Regions from separate parts of the Homo sapiens genome. Here all the other regions are linked to region 1. Evidence: promoter capture Hi-C in 16 types of primary human blood cells and fetal thymus (Javierre and others, 2016). All regions are on one chromosome and are shown on one strand. Each heading gives the region's core, a stretch centred on a gene start or on the middle of the fragment in contact. The rest is flanking DNA. Distances are from core to core; before and after follow the strand shown.

The links. The method cuts DNA at HindIII sites, captures the fragments that hold promoters and counts their contacts. A CHiCAGO score of 5 or more calls a contact.
Region 2: a contact is called between a fragment that was not itself captured here and the fragment with the promoter of MYBL2 in region 1, in 1 of 17 cell types (total CD4 T cells). The highest score is 5.1, in total CD4 T cells.
Region 3: a fragment that was not itself captured here is called in contact with the fragment with the promoter of MYBL2 in region 1 in 2 of 17 cell types (endothelial precursors and M1 macrophages); the score reaches 8.0 in endothelial precursors.
Region 4: a fragment that was not itself captured here is called in contact with the fragment with the promoter of MYBL2 in region 1 in 13 of 17 cell types (monocytes, M0 macrophages, naive CD8 T cells and 10 more); the score reaches 10.1 in monocytes.
Region 5: a fragment that was not itself captured here is called in contact with the fragment with the promoter of MYBL2 in region 1 in 4 of 17 cell types (naive CD4 T cells, naive CD8 T cells, non-activated CD4 T cells and 1 more); the score reaches 7.3 in naive CD4 T cells.
Region 6: a fragment that was not itself captured here is called in contact with the fragment with the promoter of MYBL2 in region 1 in 1 of 17 cell types (neutrophils); the score reaches 6.0 in neutrophils.

The regions. Positions count from the first base shown.
Region 1 is chr20:43,664,729-43,668,363 of GRCh38, reverse strand. It overlaps MYBL2 (MYB proto-oncogene like 2), which reads right to left and starts at 1,250. Exons shown (of 14, transcript NM_002466.4): 1 at 1,061-1,250. The coding sequence starts at 1,080. RefSeq lists enhancers at 345-394, 1,161-1,455 and silencers at 1,045-1,424, 1,161-1,455. The HindIII fragment of the contact is 3,026 bases long and covers 260-3,285 here.
Region 2 is chr20:44,169,013-44,172,647 of GRCh38, reverse strand. All of the region lies in intron 1 of JPH2 (junctophilin 2), which reads left to right. Among named protein-coding and RNA genes, the nearest start is that of JPH2, 16 kb to the left of the region's middle. The HindIII fragment of the contact is 6,904 bases long and covers 1-3,635 here.
Region 3 is chr20:44,106,650-44,110,284 of GRCh38, reverse strand. JPH2 (junctophilin 2) reads left to right here. Exons shown (of 6, transcript NM_020433.5): 6 at 1-3,635. Among named protein-coding and RNA genes, the nearest start is that of JPH2, 79 kb to the left of the region's middle. The HindIII fragment of the contact is 1,263 bases long and covers 1,330-2,592 here.
Region 4 is chr20:44,088,951-44,092,585 of GRCh38, reverse strand. No RefSeq gene overlaps it. Among named protein-coding and RNA genes, the nearest start is that of JPH2, 96 kb to the left of the region's middle. RefSeq lists an enhancer at 2,303-2,597. The HindIII fragment of the contact is 7,388 bases long and covers 1-3,635 here.
Region 5 is chr20:44,061,846-44,065,480 of GRCh38, reverse strand. It overlaps TOX2 (TOX high mobility group box family member 2), which reads right to left. Exons shown (of 9, transcript NM_001098797.2): 6 at 624-704. Among named protein-coding and RNA genes, the nearest start is that of JPH2, 120 kb to the left of the region's middle. The HindIII fragment of the contact is 7,560 bases long and covers 1-3,635 here.
Region 6 is chr20:43,993,033-43,996,667 of GRCh38, reverse strand. All of the region lies in intron 2 of TOX2 (TOX high mobility group box family member 2), which reads right to left. Among named protein-coding and RNA genes, the nearest start is that of TOX2, 80 kb to the right of the region's middle. The HindIII fragment of the contact is 1,925 bases long and covers 1,097-3,021 here.

The sequences.
Region 1 (3,635 bases), core at 1-2,500:
CCCGACGTGGTGACACGTGCCTGAAGTCCCAGCTACTCGGGAAGCTGAGGCAGGAGAATCGCTTGAACCTGGGAGGCGGAGGTTGCAGTGAGCCAAGATCGCGCCACTGCACTCCAGCCTGGGCATCAGAGCGAGACTCCTTCTCAAAAAAAAAAAAAAAAAAAAAAAAGAGGGAACGAAGGTTATCTGAGCTGCAGCGATCCAGGCAGGGAAGAGGTCAGGACCCCACTGTCCTGTCTCCCAGGCAGGCTGAAAAGCTTGGAGCTCAGGCCCCAGGCGCACAGGTGTAAGACAGGGATCTGGAGCCACAGACCTGGCTCCGGGCTCAGCTCTGCCACTTAAGTCTCTGGGGAAATAAGTAAAATGGAGACCGCAGTTCCTGCCTTTGCCCCAGGGACTCTCTCTCTCCCCCGCACCTTCAACCCCAGCTGCCCAAAACTCCTCGTGGGAACAGGAAGAGAGGTCTCAAACCGAACCAAGCTGGGGCGCGGAACCCAGGTGGGAGAGACAAAAGAGCCCCCAACTCAGCACCCTTCTCAGTCCAGGGGAGAGGGCTTGGGGGACTCTGTGCTCCCCGGAATGTTAAGGAGCAAAGCCCACCCACCAAGTTGACCCAAAACTAGGCTGCAACAAGTGCCTCCCAGGCTCGGTCTCCCACTGGCTGGGACTTGAAGACTCCCTCTCGCTCCCAGGGGTCGCCTCCCTCGCCGGCGAAGGCCCTGCCAGCTGACACCGGCCGGCCCACCCCCATCCCGCAATTAGGCGGGAGACAAAATGACATCATGCACGGCTTGGCCCGGGTCCCAAGAGACCCGCCCGTCCCAGCTCCGAGGCCCAACAGGCCTGGGGAGCCGCGAGGGACGCCCAAGAGCCCCCCAGCTTTACGCGCGCCCCTGCCTCAGAGGGCCCAGGACGCAGCATTTCCGCGGAAACACCCCACCCCCAACACACACACACACCCCAGCTTGGTGGGAGCCTGGGGAGGGTCGGGGGTATCTGGGTGGGGGAGGGGTGAGTTAAAGGGAGGGGGAGGGGCCCAAGCCCTCCCGGCTCGTCTCACCAGCGCGTCCGCCGAGACATCCCCCCGGCCCGGACCGCGCCGCGCTCGCCCGCCCGCCGGCAGAGCCCGGAGCGGGAGCCGGGCCGGGGTCAGGACCCGGGCTGCTCCGGCCGCTCCGGGCCCCGGGCCGCGCTCGAAGGCGTCAGCGTGTCAGCAGGTCCCGCGCTCCTCGCTCGCAGGAACTGCAGTCGCCGCCGGCGCGGGTTGAAGCACTTTTCTATCTCCCGCCAAGCGCGTCGGCGCCGCCCAGTCCTGGCGCGCGGGCGCCGGGGGAGGGGCCTGAGTGAGGGGCGGAGCCAGGGGGCGGGGCGGGGCGGGGCCTGCGGGGCGGCACCTGCCCAGACCCTCCAGGGCCGGCTGCAGGACAGGGGCGGCGGCCGCTACTTCGGAGTTGTGGAGCGGGCCGGGATGTGACCGAGGCCTGGCTCACGTGTCAGTCCGGGGCGGCCCAGGAGTATCCCACATAGCGAAGACCGAGGAAGGGGAGCGAGGCGCGAGCATGGGAGAGCCAGCCAGGGAAAGCGCCAGGGCGGAATCCCCCACGCTAGTCCAAGCCACTACTGGGTCCCTAGAGCCGCACCCTAAAGCGGCTCCTCACCCTACCTGTGCCTCTCCCTGCTTCCTCTCCTGCCTCCAAGAGACCCTCCTTAATAGACTTTATTTTTTGTTGTTCATTTTTCTTAGAGGCAGGGTCTTGCTCTGTCGCCCAGGCTGGAGTGCAGTTTCGCGATCATAGCTCACTGCAACCTCCACCTCCTAGGCTCAAGCGATCCTCCTACCTCAACTCACGGGTAGCTAAGACCAGGCACTCGCCACTACACCCGGCTGATTTTTTTTTTTTTTTTTTTTGAGACGGTGTCTCGCTTTGTCGCCAGGCTGGAGTGCAGTGGCGCGATCTTGACTCACTGCAACCTCCACCTCCCGGGTTCAAGCGACTCCCCCGCCTCAGCCTCCCAAGTAGCTGGAACTACAGGCGCACACCACCACGCCCGGCAATTTTTTTTTTTTTTTTTTTTTTTTTTTAGTATTTTAGTAGAGACGAGGTTTCACCATGTTGGCCAGGATGGTATAGGTCTCCTGACCTCGTGATCCGCCCGCCTCGGCCTCCCAAAGTGCTGGAATTACAGGAGTGAGCCACTGCGCTTTTTTTTTTTTTTTTAAGAGAAGGGGGTGTCTTGCTATGTTGCTGTTGCCTAGACTGGTCTAGAAACTCCTGGGCTCAAGAGATCCTGCCGCTTTGTCCTCCCAAAGTGCTGGGATTGCAGGCGTGAGCTCTTTCCAGAATTTAAAACCATCCTCCTCTCCCTCAGGGTAAATTCCTTACTCCACAATCACATTTATCTGATCTTCCAGACCACCACCCAGCCCTGGCCAAAAGAAACGGCCTCTTTGCCTTTGCCTGAGCCATTACCCAGGGCAGGAACACTTCCTGCCCCTCCCACGTGGCTGATTCCTATTTAATTTGGGGTCCACTGCCCACAATCTGCCTGTAGACTTCTGCATTTCCCCCTTTGAACTGGGAGCATCCTGAGGTCCAGGTGGCCTCTCAATGCACACCAGTATCTCCAGGGCCCAGTAGAAGACCTGACATAAGAAGCCCCAGGCAAAGGTTTGTTGCATTGAATTGTTTACCTTGGGTTTAAACTCCCAGAGATTAGCCCAGATTTAGTGGCTCATGCCAGTAATCCTAGCAGTTTGGGAGGCCGAGGTGGGAGAACTGATTCAGTCCAAAAGTTTGAGACCAGCCTGGGGATCAGAGTGAGACCCTGTCTTTACAAAAAATTAAGAAATTACCTGGCTGTGGTGGTGAATGCCTGTAATCCCAGCTACTTGGGAAGCAGAGGCAGGAGGATTGCTTGAGCCCAGGAGTTCGAGGGGCTCAAGCCCTTGTCATCCCGCCACTGCACTCCAGCCTGGGCGACAGACAGTGAGACTGTCTTTCCTTGAGATTTAGCAAAGGTTTTCTATATTAGATTGACATTTACCAAGTACCAAGGATCAAGTCACACTGGACTTCCTGGGAGCAGTGCTGAGAGGAAGATAAATGAGCTCTGAGACAGGACGCTGAAGAAACCAAATCAAACCCCAGCCTTTTAGCCCCTGTTCAGGCCTCAGAGCCCCCTTCCAGAAGCTGCTGGCCACCTGGGGACAGTCCAGCCACCAGCTGCTGCAAACTTCACTTACCACAGAAGGAAGACTAACTCACATCTTAAGTGCTAGAAGCTTCCACATCACTTAATTCAGGGTTTCTCCCGCCCACTCCCCTTATAAAGTAATTAATGTGGACATGCCCACTTCATTGAAAGCACAGCCTCCACAGCCAAACTTCCTGGGGTTTGAGTCCCAGCTCCACCATTCAGTTGCGGTATCTTAGGCAAATTACTTAACTTTTTTTTTTTTTTTAGACCAAGTCTTGCTTTATTGCCCAGACTGGAGTGCAGTGGTGTGATCTTGGCTCACTGCAACCCCCACTTCCCGGATTCAAATGATTCTCCCACCTCAGCCTCTCGAGTAGCTAGGACTACAGGAATGCGCCAGCATGCCTGGCTATTTTTTGTATTTTTGTAGAGATGGG
Region 2 (3,635 bases), core at 665-3,164, 500 kb before region 1:
GATGGTATGCACCTGTGGTCCCAGTTACTTGGGAGGCTGAGGTGGGAGGATCACTTTAGCCCAGGAGGTTGAGGCTGCAATGAGCTGTGATTGTGCCACTGCACTCCAGCTTGGATTACAGAGTGAGACTCTGTCTCGAAACGAAACAAAACAAAACAAAACAAAAAATATTTATATATACACACATACAGGTTACTAGAGCCAGCTCCTACTGGCTCATGAGAGCTCAGGAACTTTGCAGTCATGGTGGGGGTATTTACACAGTGGAAACTGACTAATAGTACAAACTGAGGTTGGTTGGTTGGTTTGTCCTAAAGAGCTGGTTTGCTACTATATCCTGACTATTGTACTAATATGAAATGCCCCTTTTTCCTTCTCACCCCAATTTAGGGTGATCAGCCATCTCAATTTGCCTGAAACTGCCCGGTATTAGCACTGAAAGTTCCACATCCCAGGAAACCTCTCAGACATAGGCAAACTGGGATGACTGGTCACCCTACAGTCTTTTCCCATGAAGTGAAAGGAGCCAACCTTTGTTGAGAGCCCGAGATCTCTGCTAGATAAACCATGTAATACAGCAACCTTGCAAAGGAAACTTGCTATGCTCACTTTACTGAGAGGAGACAGACTCAAAGAGACCTTATTCAAAGCCTGTGCTTATTAATGCATTTGACAGTATCTGTTGAATGTCTTCCATGTGTGAGTCCCTGCATGGAGTGCTGGGGATGCTGTGGTGGGCGAGTCAGACCTGTCCCTGCCCCCAAGTGCATGTATCTTAACAGCAGAGACCGGCATCTAACAATTACTTAAATACAAAATGTGATACATATTTTGAAGGAAAAATAGAAGAATTTATGAACTGATAACAGGGAAACCTGGTCTGGTCTGATAATCAGAGAAGGCGTCCTTGAGGAAGTGATGTTTGAGCTGAGATATGCAGGATGAATAGAGGTAAACTGGGTGACAGGGGAGGCCGCACAGGCAGGCAGAAGGGACAGCAAATGCAAAGGCTTGGAGGTGGGACCTGAGCATGCTGTGTTCCAGAAAAGGCTGGAGCACAGACTCAGAGAGAGAGAGTGGGGTGGACGAGGCTGGAGAGATTGGCAAAGCCCAGATCATGAGGGTTTTGTGGGTCACAGTGAGGAGCTTGAACTTCATCCTTCTAGTAGATTCTAGGCTACCCCTTCAGACACTCCTTAGGACCAGGGACACATTCCCCGAGCTGCCAGGAGTGTTAGCAGCTGACAGATCCTGGCTGGGTATTTCTCTCCAACAAAGGGAGCTGCCTCCTTCACATCTAATGACTGTAATGACCTGGCCCCCTTGCTTTGATTTTGGGCAACGCTGAAGGGCTATACCAGCTTAAATCCCCCTGGGATCAGTTGAATATTCTGTTGCAGATGTTCAGCTTCCTCCACTGCCAAATCCTGCTTCCTTCCTTACACGTGCTCTTCCTGAGAGCACTCCCCGCTAAATCTCCCACACATCATCTCAGCTTCAGAATCTTTTCCCTAGGGATCCTGACCTGAGACACTCCTCAAGGCACTGGGAAGTTACTGCAGGGTTTTGAGATGGGGAGTAACCTGCTGAGAGTTGCATCTTATGAAGAAGATGAGTGGCAGCAGCAAAGGGTCAACTGAAGTGGGGGGCAGGGAGGATACTACTGTCATCATCGAGGGAGAAAAGGATGTGGCTTGGACTAGACAGATAGGGTGGAGACCAAGAGAATTAAGGAGTATCGCAGTGCGTCATCATGAGAGTCATTTAAATTCTTAGTTTCAGTTTTTCCAATTGTAACATCGAAATGATGATGCCTGTATCTGTTAGGATACTTTCTTATCTATTCATTTTAACAATATATTGAGCAAAATTAAAGAGATATTCAGAGTCAGGTCTATCTGAAGACCATGTGATTTCCATTATTCTTTGCTACCTCCAAAGCTGTCTTAGCCCTGGCTTACTTTCTCTGGGATGCTGGGTCCATAGTCTTTATCAAGGTGGGTTAGAGCCAAGCTATGAGTCCCTTATAATCAGGAGCATCTGTGTGGTGTCTGTGGCATGGGCATGTGTGCTGACCACAGTGAGCATTTCTGGTTCACCTGGTCTGATCTTGGTATGCTTGGACAAGAGCCATTAACCCCTGGACTCTCTGATGCTCACTCTGTATCTGCCATGCTCCATCTTAAACACTGTCTGAAATTTGTTGATGACACTTCTATGGGCCACCCAAAGATCTTATGCCAACATCTGGTACTATGTGAGAGGACTTGGAGAAGGATCAGCGATGGCTGGTAGACAAAACAGGCAAGATAAAGACAAGAGAGCTGCCATGGGAAGTAAGAAGTGATAAATGTCTTGGGCAATGAGAATTTGGAGGAAGGAAGGTGGTTCCCTGAAGGAGGTGGTTTGAAACTGGGCTATGAAGGATTTGGGAAGACAAGGCTGAGAAAGTGACTTGGAACCAGGTCATGAAGGAACTGGACTATCAGGTAAGGACTTCTATAGGCAATGGGGACTCCTAGAAAGGAGCTAGTCCTCGTTCCTTCTCTCCATCTCTGTTCAGTTCTCCAGTGTGTTAGTCTGCTTTCTGTTACTTATAACAGAATACCTGAAACTGTGTAGTTTATAAGAAACAAAATGTATTTCCTAGAGTTCTGGAGGCTAGGCAGTCCAAGGTCAAGGGGTCATATCAGGAGTGGCATTCTTACTGGTGGAGACTCTCTGCAGAGTCCCAAGGTGGCACAGGGTGTCATGTGATGAGAGGGCCGAGTGTGCTAGCTCAGATCTCTCTTCCTCTTCTTATAAAGCCACCAGCCCCACTCCCATAACCAATTAAACCATGAATCCATGAGTGGATTAATCACCTCTTAAAGGCCCCACCTCTCAATACTGCCACATTGGGGATTAAGTTTCAATTTGAGCTTTTTAGGGGGACAAACATTAAACCGTAGCACCGAGGCACACTGATCTTCCAACCTCAGATAGTTCCCTGGAAATAGGAAGGTGTCACTGGCCAGATGGGATGGTGTTCTCAGTGTCCATTCTGTATTTGGAGGCAGAATCCTGGTCTGGCCCATATGTCTCTTTGATGTCTCAAACTGGATTCTGGATCTCCCAGCTTTTCCTTGGTGTCTTAGTCAATTTTGTGTTGCTGTAAAAGAATACCTGAGGGCCAGGCGTGGTGGCTCATGCCTGTAATCCCAGCACTTTGGGAGGCCAAGGCAGGCGGATCATGAGGTCAGGAGTTCGAGACTAGCCTGGCCAATACAGTGAAAAACCCCGTCTCTACTAAAACTACAAAAAATTAGCTGGGCATGGTGGCAGGAACCTGTAGTCCCAGCTACTTGGGAGGCTGAGGCAGGAGAATTGCTTAAACCCAGGAGGCGGTGGTTGCAGTGAGCCAAGATCACACTACTGCACTCCAGCCTGGGCAACAGAGAAAGACTCTATCTCAAAAAAAAAAAAAAAAAAAAATACCCAAGGCCAGGTAATTTACAAAGAAAAAAGGTTTATTTGATTAACGATTCTGGTGGCTGGAAAGTTCAAGGTGGAGCATCTACCTCTGATAAGGGCCTCAGGCTGCTTCCACTCATGGCAGAAGGTGAAGGGGAGCTGGTGTGTGCAGAGATCACATG
Region 3 (3,635 bases), core at 712-3,211, 440 kb before region 1:
GTGGGCAGCCAGCCCAGTTGGCCGGTCTGCAGATGGGGTGTGTCTGTGTGTGTGTGTGTATGTGTGTGTGTTGGATGAGTTGGGGGCAGGGGTGGCTGTATTGAACTCACTTTGGATGGTGTGCAAAGGAGGCGGCTTCCTGAGCCCCAGGTTTGGAGACTCAGAGCCAGGTAGGGTTAGTCGGAGACAGCACCCCCTGTTGGCTCAAGGGTAGGACACAGCCAGGCCGATGCCTCCTCTTCTAATCTTGACCACAGGCAGCTCTAGGAAGTCTGATGGGTCTCCTGCCATGCCCGGAATGCATTTAAGGTGGTTTGTACCATGCATGAACTTAAAAGCAATGCTGGCCCACTGCCTTGAGGTCTCTGCAGGACTCTTCCAGGGCAGTGAAAGGGAGGGGACCTAGGAACCGTGGGAGTCAGATTTGGGATTCGGGCAAGAAGGGAAGTTTCATAATCTGATGGACCCACAGAAGACCTGGCTGTTCTGGGAGAGATGCAGGCCCAGATGATGACCTTTGGAGGTGCCATGCCTGAAAAACTGATATGAAGATGCTCTCCCCCAAATAAGTGACTCAGAATACAAATAATACCTAAACTGTAAAACATAAAACTTGCATGTATGCTGAAATTAAAATAGCTCTTAGGTTCTTGTTTTGTGCAAAACTCTGACTATGCCTATGGAGGCCAGTTCCCACTCCCTCACTCTCTCAGCCTGTCTTGCTGGTACACTCAATGGAGTCAGGTGGCCGTAGGTCAGGCCCTGTGCTAAGCCCTTCACCTCCTGTATGTGGTGGCAGAACAGCTGTGTGGTTCAGAACATGGTTGCTGGTTCAAATCTTGGCTCTGTCCCTTAACATCTAGAACTTTCTTACTTTTCTGGGGGTGATGAATACCATGTTACCTGCCTCTTCAGATAGAAAATATGAACACAGCACTTAGAACAATTCCCAGCATGGTGTGAGCAGATGGTAAATGCACTGCTATTTTCCATTCTTCGCAGTATCTCCATGGTGTAGGTATTCGTCCACCCATTTTGCAGATGAGGAAAATTGAGCCTTGGGGAGATGGAGTGATTGGTTCAAGGTATCACAGAGAGGGAAGGACAGAGCTGGGACTGAAACCCAGAGCTGTGCTCTTTTACAGAACCACACTGCTCCCACCATGAAAGAGTGAGCTTCCCATCACTGCAGATGAGCCAGCTGAGGGGAGATGCTAGTCAACAGGGATGTGGCAGGGGACATTTGTCTATTGGATATTAGTGGATGTGATGATTCAGAATTCCTGAAGGAGTTCAGGGAAGGAAGTTTCCTTCTTCTCTGAAGAAGCTTGAGGAAATAACTCCTTAGGTTGTCAGAGATGGAGGCACTCTAAGATATCAGCTCATCTGGCCCCCTGTTTTTCATATGGGGAAACAGGTCTGGAGAGAGTGTCGTGATTTGTAAGGATCACACAGCAAGTCAGTGACAGAGCCTGGACTGAGCGGGGAGTCATATTTTGTCCACAGACCAACTGCAGGTGAGACCCTCATGTACGGCAACAGATGCCAGGGCACCTCATGTGTCAGAACATTCACCATTCACTCCAGGCTGTCTTGACCAGGTGCCTACATTACAGTCACTTCTTCTTCCTCTTTTCTTTTTTTTTTTTTTTGAGACAGAGTCTCATTCTGTCACCCAGGCTGGAGTGCAATGGTATACAGTCACTTCTTAGTGACCTTTTAAAGCTATTTACATCTTGAGGCTGTAAAGTCAGCAATCTTGAGGCTGTAAAGTCAGCAAAGTCTGAGGGAACAATCTCCCCCTCTCCCTTCAGACCCCAGATACAAGTTTGGGGATCTCCAGGGCCACCATCAGTTCATACTGACTGGCTACAAACAAGGGGGTTCCTATGATTATCCTCATACTCAATAATTCACTAGAAAGACTCACAGAACTCACTGAAAGCTATTCTACTCAAGTCACATTGATTACAAGCAAAGAATGCGAATCAGAACCAGCCAAGGGAAAGGGACATAGGAAGGAATCTGGGAGGGTTCCAAATGCTAAACACCCGTGTCCTCGGTATCTGTTACCTTGCCAGCATTGATAAGTAACAGTATGACAAAGTATGGCCAACCAGGGAAGCTAACCAGTGCTTCAGTGTCCAGAGTTTTTATTGGGACTTCATTATGTAGAGGTGATTGATTGAATCATTTCCCACATGGTTGAACTTAACCTCCATACCCCTCCCCACACCCAAAGGTCAGGCTGACATCACATAGCCCAAAGCCCCAATCTTTTAACCCTGTGGTTGATTTTTCTGGCATGGCCAGCACTCACTATAAGCCATCTGGTTAGCATAAGCTGTGAGTTGTGGTCCCAGGAGCCCACCATGAATAACAAAGACACTCCTGTTAATCAGGATATCCTAAGGGTTTAGAAATTACTTCCTAGGAGCCAGGACAAAAATCAGACCTCTCCCTCAAGGCCCAGTTGCTAACTACACAACCCTGTATCTCTTCCTATCCACAGCTTCTCCACTAGACTGAGTTCCTTAAGAGAGGGGCTATCTGTGATTCATCTCTATATCCATGCATTAGTTAGTGTAAGCTTGGCTGAGGTAATTGACTCCACAGTTTATAATTGCTATACACCATATAAGTTTGTCATAGAATAGCTGTCCCTCATCATAATGATTCAGGGACCCAGGTTTTTTCCATCTGTGGTTCTACATATCCTAGGGCTTTTTTGGTCTCTGCATCTGCCAAAGGAAAAGGAAAGAGAGTATGGAGGATGGAATTTGCTTCCTAAAAACTTTCACCAGGAAAACAGCACACATCACTTCTGCTCATATTCCACTAGCCAGAGCTCAGTTGTTTGGCCTCAACTAGCTTCAAGGGAGGCTGGGAAATACGGACTACATGTGTCCTCAGGGAGAAGAGAAGGATGTGGGTTTTGGTAAACAGACAAGACAGTACAGCCTGTAGTACCATCCCCATTGTCCCACTTAGGTCTCGGGGCAGAGTAGACATTCAGTGAGTGCTTATTGAGGAAATGGATATGGTGGCCATAAGAGGCAGTATGGTTGGGGAGTGGGGATGGGTTGGGGCTTTGGAATTGGACAGACCTAGTTTCTAATCCTGGCTATATCACTTCTTTGCTGTATGTGGAAGATGCCATCACTGATTGGATTCTGCAGGAGCAGACACTGAGAGTCACCTAAGCTGCAAGATGTTTATTAGGGATCAAAACCTGTGAAAGGAAGGAGGAAAATGCAGAACAGGGCAGAGGAAGAAGTCTAACTTGATGCAGGCCTGACAAAGTCCAACCCAGTGGGAGCTCCAGAGCAAGGATTGCTTGTAGAGCATCTCCCATTGGGCTTTTATACCCCTCCCTTGCTCTGTTACTGGGTGATATGGTTTGGCTGTGTTCTCACCCAAATCTCATCTTAAATTCCCACCCACACGTTGTGGGAGGGACCCAGTGGGAGGTAATTGAATCATGGGGGCAAGCCTTTCCCGTGCCGTTCTCGTGGTAGTGAATAAGTCTCATGAGATCGATGATTTTAAAAAGAGGAGTTACTCTGCACAAGTTCCTCTCTTTGCCTGCTGCCATCTAGTAAGATGTGACTTGCTCCTCCTTGTCTTCCACCATG
Region 4 (3,635 bases), core at 560-3,059, 420 kb before region 1:
TCCCGGGTTCAAGTGATTCTCCTGCCTCAGCCTCCTGAGTAGCTGGGATTACAGGCACGTGCCACCATGGCCAGCTACCTTTTTCTATTTTTAAAGTAGAGATGGAGTTTCACCATGTTGGCCAGGCTGGTCTCGAACTCCTGACCTCAGGTGATCCATCTGCCTCGGCCTCCCAGAATGATGGGATTATAGGAGTGAGCCACCACACCCGGCCCCCAGTTAGTTTTGAGCTTCCTGCTTCTATGTATAGTCTCTTGCACGTGACTGTTTGTTTATATCCAGTGTGTTTTCATTCTCAGAAATTATCTTCTGCACATCCTTATATTTTTATTCTCTGCTTCCCTTAAAGGGTCATTTCCATGACAGAAGGAATGTTATTGTCTTCTCGAAGGCTGTATCCCCAGTACAGAGAATAGTGCCTGGCAATTAAGGAGTTAATTACAGGTGAAAGTTATGATGCAGCTAACAGACATAGAAAGGTATAAAATGAAAGAAGGGTGGGGAGGTAGAAGGGAGTTAAGTTCATCAATAGCAGTAGGGAGACAAAAGTTATAATAGAAAAGCTCAATTAATTGAGGTTTAAGTGCATTGTTTAAAGGTGTGATGTTTCTAAGGGGGGGGTGGAATCAAAGTAATCTTTCAAAACCTTTAGAGGAATTTGGGAAGAAGTAATGTCAGAGCTGATAAATCAAGAAAGAATGGTATAAATATATTACTTAGAGTTATACTAGGTAGTCATCAGGAATTACACTGTGAGAGTTGCGTTGGTGTGGAGAGAGGGGGTGGCAAATTACTGCTTTCTATAATAGGTCCGTAAATATTTAATTTCTAGCCATAGGGATGTATTGCTTTGATTAATTTTTTTCTAATAGAGGAATTCAAACACAGGAAGAAACCTTAGATAAATCTGTAAAGGACTAGGATGAGAGATTTCATTCATTAATTTTTGGGAAGCATGCGCATAGAGAAAGCGTCTCTTATTCTTTCTCAGATAGACACGCGTACATACGGAGTCGGTTCCCTTTCCTCTTGTGAATCATTTTGAACCAAGAATAATTAGAGCACCTTTGTATAGTACTTGGTATTTTGGATTTGCATTTTTTTTCCAGGGTTGGTGGTGGTTCTATTCCAATGTTTCAGGCCCTTAAAAAAGGACTTGTTTATAACATGAGTCCAGAAGCTGTCACATCAGAGGGCGTGTTCCCAGGCAGGTGGAGTGGGAAGGGACTTCCTGAGGCAGACACCAATGTTGTCCCTAAGTGGATGGCCCTTGTGGTTGTGGCATTTGAAGCCACAATGTCAGGAAGCGCATGGTCCCTCCTCTGTGTCTGGGGGCAGGAGAGAGGGCCTGACCATCGCTTATGCAGGCAAATAACTCCACCTATGGTGAGAATTGGCCTTGCAGAGTCTGAGGGCAGTTATCCAGGGTCACTATCTTGATCGTCACCAGCTGTGTCCAGTTGGAAAATCACCCTTCCAGCTTGTTCACTTCCAAATGTGGGACTGTGGGGCATTTCCTGGCAAGGCTGTGGACAAAGATCTGTCAGCCCAGGGCCTCAAAACAGCTGAGCTTCCAGCTCTGCAGCCTCTGCCTCCTTTTCCTCTAGGCATGGCCCAACATGCCTTTGCTGTGTACAGAAGGACATTTACCCTTTTTGGGAACTCTGGTTTCTGGTATGACCAGGTGTGGTGTTTGCACCCATGAAGTTAATATGTAGGTATAAGGTGAGGTTTCAGACATGGATTTGGGATTAGGACCAGTTAGAAACACCTATACATCACCTGTGATTCCCTTGGGAAGAGTCTGCTATTTGGGGGGGATAGCACCAACCCCCAGAAAGTGCCCCTTGGTGATTATCATGGGTCAAGGCATGTTTTATACACTCATGGTATGGATGAGAGCTTTTCAGACCTGCCAAATGTTGAACATCGTTTGATGTTTCTGAAAGGGAGCCTGTCTCTTGTGGATTGTGGTTCATGCACGTGGAATATTGTTTTCTGGTCATGTAACCAAGAGTTAAGTCTGCAAATACAGGTCAGTAATTGCTGGAGATGTCAGATAACCAGGTGTATCAGCTAGCTTATGCAGCACAACAAACCACCCCAGACTCTGTGACTTAATACAACAACTATTTATTGAGCTCACAGCTCTGTGGGATGGCAGTTTGGGGTAGGTTCATGTGGGCAGTTCTGCGATTTCGCCAAGTTTGGTTTATCTCAGCTGGAACTCACTCGTACATCTGAAGTTGGCTGCTGGATGGGCACAGGGCTTTCTGATGTCAGCTGGGGCACCTTCCTTTTCTCTGCAGGGTCTCTCATCATCCAACAGGCTAGCATGGGCTTGTTCTCATGGTGATGGGTCTGACCAAGAGCAGTGAGAGGGCAAGGCCAATGAGCAAGCACTTTTCAAGTTTCTGCTTGCATAATGTTTGCTGCTGTCTCATTGGCTAGAGCAAGTCACATGGCCAAGTCTGGCGTTCTTGTCAGAGTCATTAAACAAAATCAGAGCCGTTCCTGCAAGCTGTGCACAGCACCAGGGAACAGCTGACAAGGAGCCCAATGTTTCCATCCAAACATACCTCAGAGCAGGGAAAATGGCTCCTGTTATCCTAAAAGAAATCGTGGCTCCATTTTGCTGCTCCTCAACAATGTCATGTGTGAACCTCTGATCCCTTTGGTGGGAATGGTGATAATAAAAATAATGATTAGTGACATTGATAATGACAGCTAACCTTGTTTATCACATTCCAGACACTTCTAATTGCATACAAGGATTATCTCATTTAATTCTTAGAGCCATGAGAATAAGAAGCTACATATACCAACATTACATATATCTCAAAAACCTGTAAGTGGAAAATGATATTTATAGTATGAGAAATTTACATAAAATTCTAAAACACATAAAGCAATATTATATATCGTGGATATTTACATTTGTGTTTAAATAATGGAAATGATTAAAAAAACAAACTCGAAGCAGCTACTTTCAGAGGAGGATGGAAACTGGCAGAATGAAGCACATGGGAACTTTGACTATAACTGTGTGTGGGGAGTTGAGTTCTGACTGAAGTTTAAGATTGGTGGAGGTTGCCTAGGTGCTAGTTATATTCTCTCTGTACTGTTTATACATCTAAAATATTTCAGAAAGAAACTAGAGGTTGCTTCACCCACAAAAATACTTCATTGTATTAAAAATCTACACTAAAATCAATGGATCAATGGAATAAGATTTTTAAAATCCAGAAATGGACCCAATTTTCTAATTAAAGGAGTGTCACTCAAAAAGGTGAAATGGAACCTTTAATACATAGCAAAGAGACAACTGGGCAACCATTTGGGGAAAAAGTAAACTTAGATCCATGGCTCATACTTTGCACTAAAGTCACTCGCAAATGGATTGAAGATTTAAATATTTAAAATGAAAGTACAAAAAAGGTGGTGGTGAGCTCTCAGCCTCTGGGAATCACAGCTTTATAGAATGTGAGGTTTGGAAGTGACTTTATGGGTTACCTGTACCACAGGCATGCACTACCACACCTGGCTAATTTTTGTATTTTTAGTAGGGATGAGGTTTTGCCATGTTGGCCAGGCTGGTCCTGAACTCCTGGTCTCAAGTGATCCATCCACCTCGG
Region 5 (3,635 bases), core at 782-3,281, 400 kb before region 1:
TGCTCCTCAGCCTGGCCAGTGAGACAAGCACCATCCCACTGAGCCAGCTCTAATCATGCTCCTTCCAACCTCTGTGCCTTTGTAGATGTTTTTCCCTTGACTTTGAACCACCTTTTACTTGGCCTGTTATAGACCAGTTTGGATGCCATCTCTTCTGTACCAGGAACAACACCCACCTCCACTTGGGCCACGCATCCGCAGCCACACTTAGCTTCCTACGTTGCTGGTGTTGACAGAGGAGGCCGACGGTGTGGTGAGGAGGTGCCATATTTTGGGGTAGCGTGTCCCAAGCCCCATCAGCGGTCAGAAGTGAAGGCCACATAAAACTGGCAAAACTGGGTTTGAATCCTAGTGCGGCCACTTTAACAAACTGGATCTTTTCAGGCAAGTTGCTCAACCCCTCTGGGTGCTGGGTTCTTGTTGGAAGAAGCCAATGAAATGCATGTAAAGTGCCCAGAATGAGCCTGGCATGCTGTAGGTGCCCTGCAGACATGACCATGTAGGTCTGAGCCATTCTTTCTAAGACCTGGGGTGCCGGCCCTTCCCACGGGCCCCAGTTCTTGCTCCATTCCTCAAGTGGCCCCACTCTGATCAGGGCTGTGCCTGGAGATTCCGGGTGTTACCTTGGAGACGAGGCTAGCCCGGTAGGCTGCCAGGGCCTTCAGATATTCCTTCTTTGCTGCTTCTGTCTTCCTCTTGTAGGCCTGGAAGAGTCAACACATGAGCAACACTGGGGAGAAAGTTACAGAGGAGATGCCGTGCAGGGTCCTGGGGTGGGAAGGCATGGATTCAAGGATCACGAATGGACGAGGGTGGTGGGGTCAGAAGCTGAGTCAGCCAGCCACTGGCCCCTTTCTGGGAGCGCTGCAGAGAAATTGTGGAGACCAGGCCATATCCCAGTTCCTCAGCCAAGTCACTGTGTGGCCTTGGCCAACATGCTTCATCTCTCTGGGCCTCCAGGTTCTATCAGCACAACTGATCACAGAAAGACAATGCCCTTTGAAGCCCCCATTCTGAGCCAGCACAGTGCAGATTTCTTAATGCCGAACCACCTTCGCAACCTAGAATGAACCTACTTGTTCATAGTATGTTAGTTTGGATTCGGTTTGCTAATATTTTTTATTAAAAATTTTAGACCTAGGTTCATATGTTATTGTAGGACTGGTCCCAGTTTGTTCGCACCTCCTTGTTTCCATGGCTTTTGGTAGAAACGAGGAGGTGCAAATGACTTGGAGCTTAGCCTTGTGTGACTTGTGTTGGCCAATAAGACAAGCACAAATGTGATGCATGCAGAGACTGACAAAGTGATCACATATTGGTGAGCCCTCTTGCTACTCTTGGAACTCTTATTTAAAAATTTTTTTTGTATATGAATAAGTTCTTTAATGGTGATTTCTGAGATGTTGGTGAACCTACCACCTGAGCAGTGTACACTGTACCTGATGATAGTCTTTTATCCTTCACTACCATCCTTTTCCCCAAGTCCCCAAAGTCCATTGTATCATTCTTATGCCTTTGTGTCCTCATAGCTTAGTTCCCACTTATGAGAACATACAATGTTTGGTTTTCCATTCCTGAGTTACTTCACTTAGAATAATTGTCTCCAATTCCATCCAGGTTGCTGCAAATGCCATTATTTCCTTCCTTTTTATGGCTGAGTAGTATTTCATGGTGTTTGTGTGTGTGTGTGTGTACATATATATGTATATGTGTGTGTGTGTACATATATATGTGTGTATATATATGTAGCACATTTTCTTTACTCATTGATTGATGGGCATTTGGGCTGGTTCCATATTTTTGCAATTGCAAATTGGGCTGCTACAAACATGTGCAAGTATCTTTTTTGTAAAATTTCTTCTCCTCTGGGTGGATACCAAGCAGTGGGATTGCTGGGTCAAACAGTAGATCTACTTTTAGTTCTTTGGGGAATTTCCACACTGTTTTTCACAGTGGATGTACTAGTTTATATTCCCACCAACAGTGTAAAAGTGTTCCCTTTTTGCCACATCCATGCCAACATCTATTTTTTGATTATGGACATTCTTGCAGGAGTAAGGTGGTTTTGATTTGCATTTCCCTGATCATAATGATGTTAAGTATTTTTTAATATGTTTGTTGGCCATTTGTATATTTTCTTTTGAGAATTCTCTATTCATCTCCTTAGCCCAATTTTTGATGGGATTGTTTTTTTCTTGCTGATTTGAGTTCCTTTGTAGATTCTGGATATTAGTCCTTTGTCGAAAGTATAGATTGTGAAGATTTTCTCCCACTCTGTGGGTTGTCTGTTTACCCTGCTGGTTCTTTTGCTGTGCAGCTTTTTAGTTTAATTAAGTCCCATCTATTTACCTTTGTTTTTGTTGCATTTGCTTTTGGGTTCTTGGTCATGAAGTCTTTGCCTAAGCCAATGTCTGTGGAAGGGTTTTTCCAGTGTTATCTTCTAGAATTTTTAGGGTTTCAGGTCTTAGATTTAAGTCTTCCATCCATTTTGAGTTGATTTTTGTATAAGGTGAGAGATGAGGATCCAGTTTCACTCTTCTACATGTGGCTTGCCAATTATCCAAGCACCATTTGTTGAATAAGGTGTCCTTTCCCCACTTCATGTTATTGTTTGCTTTGTTAAAGATCAGTTGGTTGTAAGGATTTGGCTTTATATCTGGGTTCTCTAATCTTTTCCATGGTCTATATGCCTATTTTTATACCAGTACCATGCTGTTTTGGTGACTATGGCCATATAGTTTGAAGTCGGGTAATGTGATGCCTCCAGATTTGTTCTTTTTGCTTAGTCATGCTTTGGCTATGAGGGCTCTTTTTTGATTCCACATGAATTTTAGGATTGTTTTTTCTAGTTCTGTGAAGAATGTTGGTGGTGTTTTGATGGGAATTGCATTTAATTTATAGATTGCTTTTGGCAGTATGGTCATTTTCACACTATTGATTCTACCCATCCATGAGCATGGGATGTGTTTCCATTTGTTTCATCTACGATTTCTTTCAGCAGTGTTTTGTAGTTTTCCTTGTAGAGGTCTTCCACCTCCTTGGTTAGGTATATTCCTAAGTATTTTATTTATTCATTTATTTATTTATTTATTTATTTATTTATTTATTTATTTTGCAGTTAAAGGGGGTTGAGTTCTTGATGTGATTCTCAGCTTGGTCACTGTTGGTGTATAGCAGATCTATTGATTTGTGTACATTAATTTTGTATCTTGAAACTTTGCTGAATTCATTTACCAGTTCTAGGAGCTTTTTGGATGAGTCTTTAGGGTTTTCTAGGTATATGATAATCCCATCAGCAAACAGTGACAGTTTGACTTCCTCTTTACTGATTTGGTGCCCTTTATTTCTTTCTCTTGTCTGATTGCTCTGGCCAGGACTTCCAGTACTGCATCGAATAAATGGGCATCCTTGTCTTGTTCTAGTTCTCAGGGGGAATGCTTTCAACTTTTCCCCATTCAGTGTAATGTTGGCTCTGGATTTATCATAGATGGCTTTTATTACCTTAAGGTATGTCCCTTCTATGCCGATTTTGCTGAGGGTTTTAATCAAAGGGATGCTCAATTTTGTCAAATGCTTTTTCTGTGTCTATTGAGATGATCATGTGGTTTTAAATTCTGTTTATGTGGTATATCACA
Region 6 (3,635 bases), core at 810-3,309, 330 kb before region 1:
CACACACACACCCAAGCAAGAAAAAAAAAGCCCTCGGATGATATGCAGAACAAGTAGAAAATGGCATTTCCATTTTACAGATGAGGAAACTGAGGTTCAAAAGGGAAAAATGACTTATCCAAAGTCATATGGGTAGCATTTATGAAAATGAGGACAAGAAGCCCTGCCTACCAGTAGCCAAAGCTTTGCTCTGCCACTGTTCAAGCTCCTCCCAACACACACGAGTCCTGGCTAGGCCAGGGCAGGCCTGCTCCACGCCTCTTGTTCCAGTGTCACGTTAATAATGTTTTATTTCACTCTAAACAGTGTCCTGGTTTGGCCAGTAAATTATATGGTCGCCCTACCATCTTGCCATTTTAACAAGTAAAACCCGCACCAGCAAGAACATCTCAGCTACAACATCACCGATCATTAGAGAAATGCAAATCAAAACCATAATGAGATACCATCTCACACCAGTCAGAATAGCTATTATGAAAAAGCCAAAAAATAACAGATCCTGGCAAGGTTGCAGAGAAAAGGTAACACTTACACTGTTGGTAGGAGTGTAAATTAGTTCAACCATTGTGGAAAGCAATATAGCAATCACTCAAAGAACAAAAAGCAGAACTACCATTCAACCCAGCAATCCCATTACTGGATATATACCCAGAAGAATATAAATCATTCTTCCATAAAGACATGTGTACACAAATGTTCATTGCAGGACTATTCACAACAAACATGGAATCAACCTGAATGACCATCAAGGACAGATTGGATAAAGAAAATGTTGTATGTGGTACATATACACCATGGAATACTATGCAGTCATAAAAAAGAATGACATCATGTCTTCTGTAGGAACATGGATGGAGCTGGAGGCCATTATCCTTAGTAAACTAATGCAGGAACAGAAAAGCAAATACCACATGTTCTCACTCACAAGTGAGAGCTAAGTGATAAGAACTCATCAACACAAGAAAAGGAAAAACAGACACTGGGTTCTACTTGAGGGTGGGAGGAGGGAGAGGAGCAGAAAAAATAACTAATGGGTACTAGGCTGAATACCTGGGTGACAAAATAATCCGTACATCAAATCCCCACGACACAAGCTTACCTATATAACAAACCTTCACACGTACCCCTGAACCTAAAATAAAAGTTTAAAAAAAGCCATCTCTGCTAAAAGACTGTAGTGCGATTCAGTGTTTCTCAACTCTGTTTTCACAACAGAAAATGACATCTTATCAAAACTCCAAACCCCAACAACTGGAGCTGAGCTCCTAGCACTGTAACTTCTTATCACGGGTATAGTGATTTTATGAATTCTGCGGGGAATGAAATGCAATTTTGTCAGGCTTGTCTGTGTCCATAATGACCGAGTCAAATTAATCATCTCAGATAATACCCCTATGTCACCCACCCCAGACATGTTTAATAGAATCTTTCTGATTCGAGTCTCACCATACATCAGATCTGGAGTATTGTAGCACTTCTGAAAATCAGGACAATTATGCCTTTTGCTTGGCCTGTCATTTTCCTGGACTAAAAATGCTTCTTAAAAAATAAAAAACTAAAAGTCCATACCATATATAAGCCAAACAGGAGAGAAAAGCCATACCGGTAAAATGAAGCGTGGATTCTGGAGGAGGTGGGGGAGGGGAATGTAATATCTTTTCTCAGCCTTTATCTACAGGCAGAACCTCCAAGCCGAGCCAGGCCACTCACACAGGAGTGCATCTAACACCCTCCCACCGGCAGTGTGCCACGCTGCCAGCCACGGCTGCTCTGTGGCTGTTCCTGACCCCGAAATGCTTGGATCAGGGCAGACAGAGGCATCATAGTGGGACAATGACAGGCAGTCACATTAGACAGGAGTTTTGTTGACTAAAACCCTATCTGGGAACAAACATGATAATCCCCATGTGTTCTCGCTCAGGACACAATCTGACTCAAGCTAAGGTTTCAGCAGCATCCTGGGTGATTCACCGGGCAGGGACGGGGAGGCTCTGGAAAGATACATGATTGGTGGGTGGGTTTGGGGGTCCTTTTCTTTAGGAAGCAGCAGTCCCAGCAGAACTTAAGTAGCAAAAGTCGCAAGGCTGGGGATAACTTGTGGGCAACAGCATCTGAATGAGAAGAGGCAGCCTGAAGCAGGCACTGGCCCCATTTTACAGATAAGGAAGCTCAGTTTTCCAATAAGTGGTAGTCTTTTTTTTTTTTTTTGGAGACAGGGTCTGGCTCTGTCACCCAGGCTAGAGTGCAATAGCATGATCTTGGCTCACTGCAGCCTCTGACTCCTGGGCTCAAGCTATCCTCCCACCTCAGCCTCCTGAATAGCTGGGACTACAGGCACGAGCCAACACACCTGGTTAATTTTTTTTGTAGAGATGGGTTTTTGCCATGCTGCCCAGGCTGGTCTCAAACTCCTGAGCTCAAGCGATCTACCCACCTTGGCCTCCCAAAGTGCTGGGAGTATAGGCATGAGCCACCGTGCCAAACTGTTTTTGTTTTTTTAATTGAATTTTCTTTTTCGAGACAGGGTCTTGCTCTGTTGCCCAGGCTGGAGCACAGTGGCATGATCACAGCTCACTGCAGCCTCAATCTCCCGGATTCAAGCGATCTTCCACCTGAGACACCCAAGGAGCTGGGACTACAGGCGTGTGCCACCATGTCCTACTATTTTTTATTTTTTTGTAGAGACCGGGTCTTGCTATATTGCCCAGACTGGTCTCAAACTCCTGGCCTCAAGCAATCCTCCCTGCTTTCCATTCCGAAGTGCTGGGATTACACGCGTGAGCTACTGTGCCCAGCCTCAAATTACATTTTTATAGCTACATATCCAACTGCCTCTTTGATACTTTACTTCCCTTGGATGTCCTACACAAAAGCCCAGCAAACTTTTTCTGCAGATAATATGTATTTTTGGCTTTGTGAGTCATATGGTCTCTGTCAGAACTATTCAACTCTATTGCTATAGCATGAAAGTAGCCACAGGCAATATTTAAACTTAGGAGGATCCCATGTTCCAGTAAAGCTTTATTTACACAAAACAGGTGGAGGGTCAGATTTGGTCCAAGGGCCATGATTTCTTTGACACGTCCAGAACTGAGCTTGTGGTCATCCTTGTACCCACCAAGTCCATTTCCCCCTCAGTATTCCTCTACCGGTGGCTCAAGCTGGGTACCTGGGAGAGATGTTCAATTCCTCCCTCTCTCATCCCCATCTCCAATCAATCACAAAGTCCTGTCAGCCCCACCTCCCCATGTATCTCAAATCTTCCCACCACAATCCATCTGCAGAGCAACCATCCTAGTCCAAGCGGTCATCACCTCCCACAAGGACTGCTGTAATCACCTCCTCAATGATCTCCTAACTTCTAATCTCTTTCCTTCCAAATTGTTCTCCATAGCAGCCAGGGTAGAGGTTCCACACACAAAACTGATGGTGATACTCCCATTAGCTGATGTCCTCTACGCTCAGGATACAGTGTGTGTGAAACCCTCTCTGTAGCCTGCAAAGTCCTGCATGATCCGGCCCAGTCTCCTTCCAGTCTCACCTCCTATGACACCCCCTCATCGCTATGGCCAGCCTGGATGGTGTCTGACATGCCACGTGCCTTCCTCATTCAGCGGGGACTCGAACATCACTCC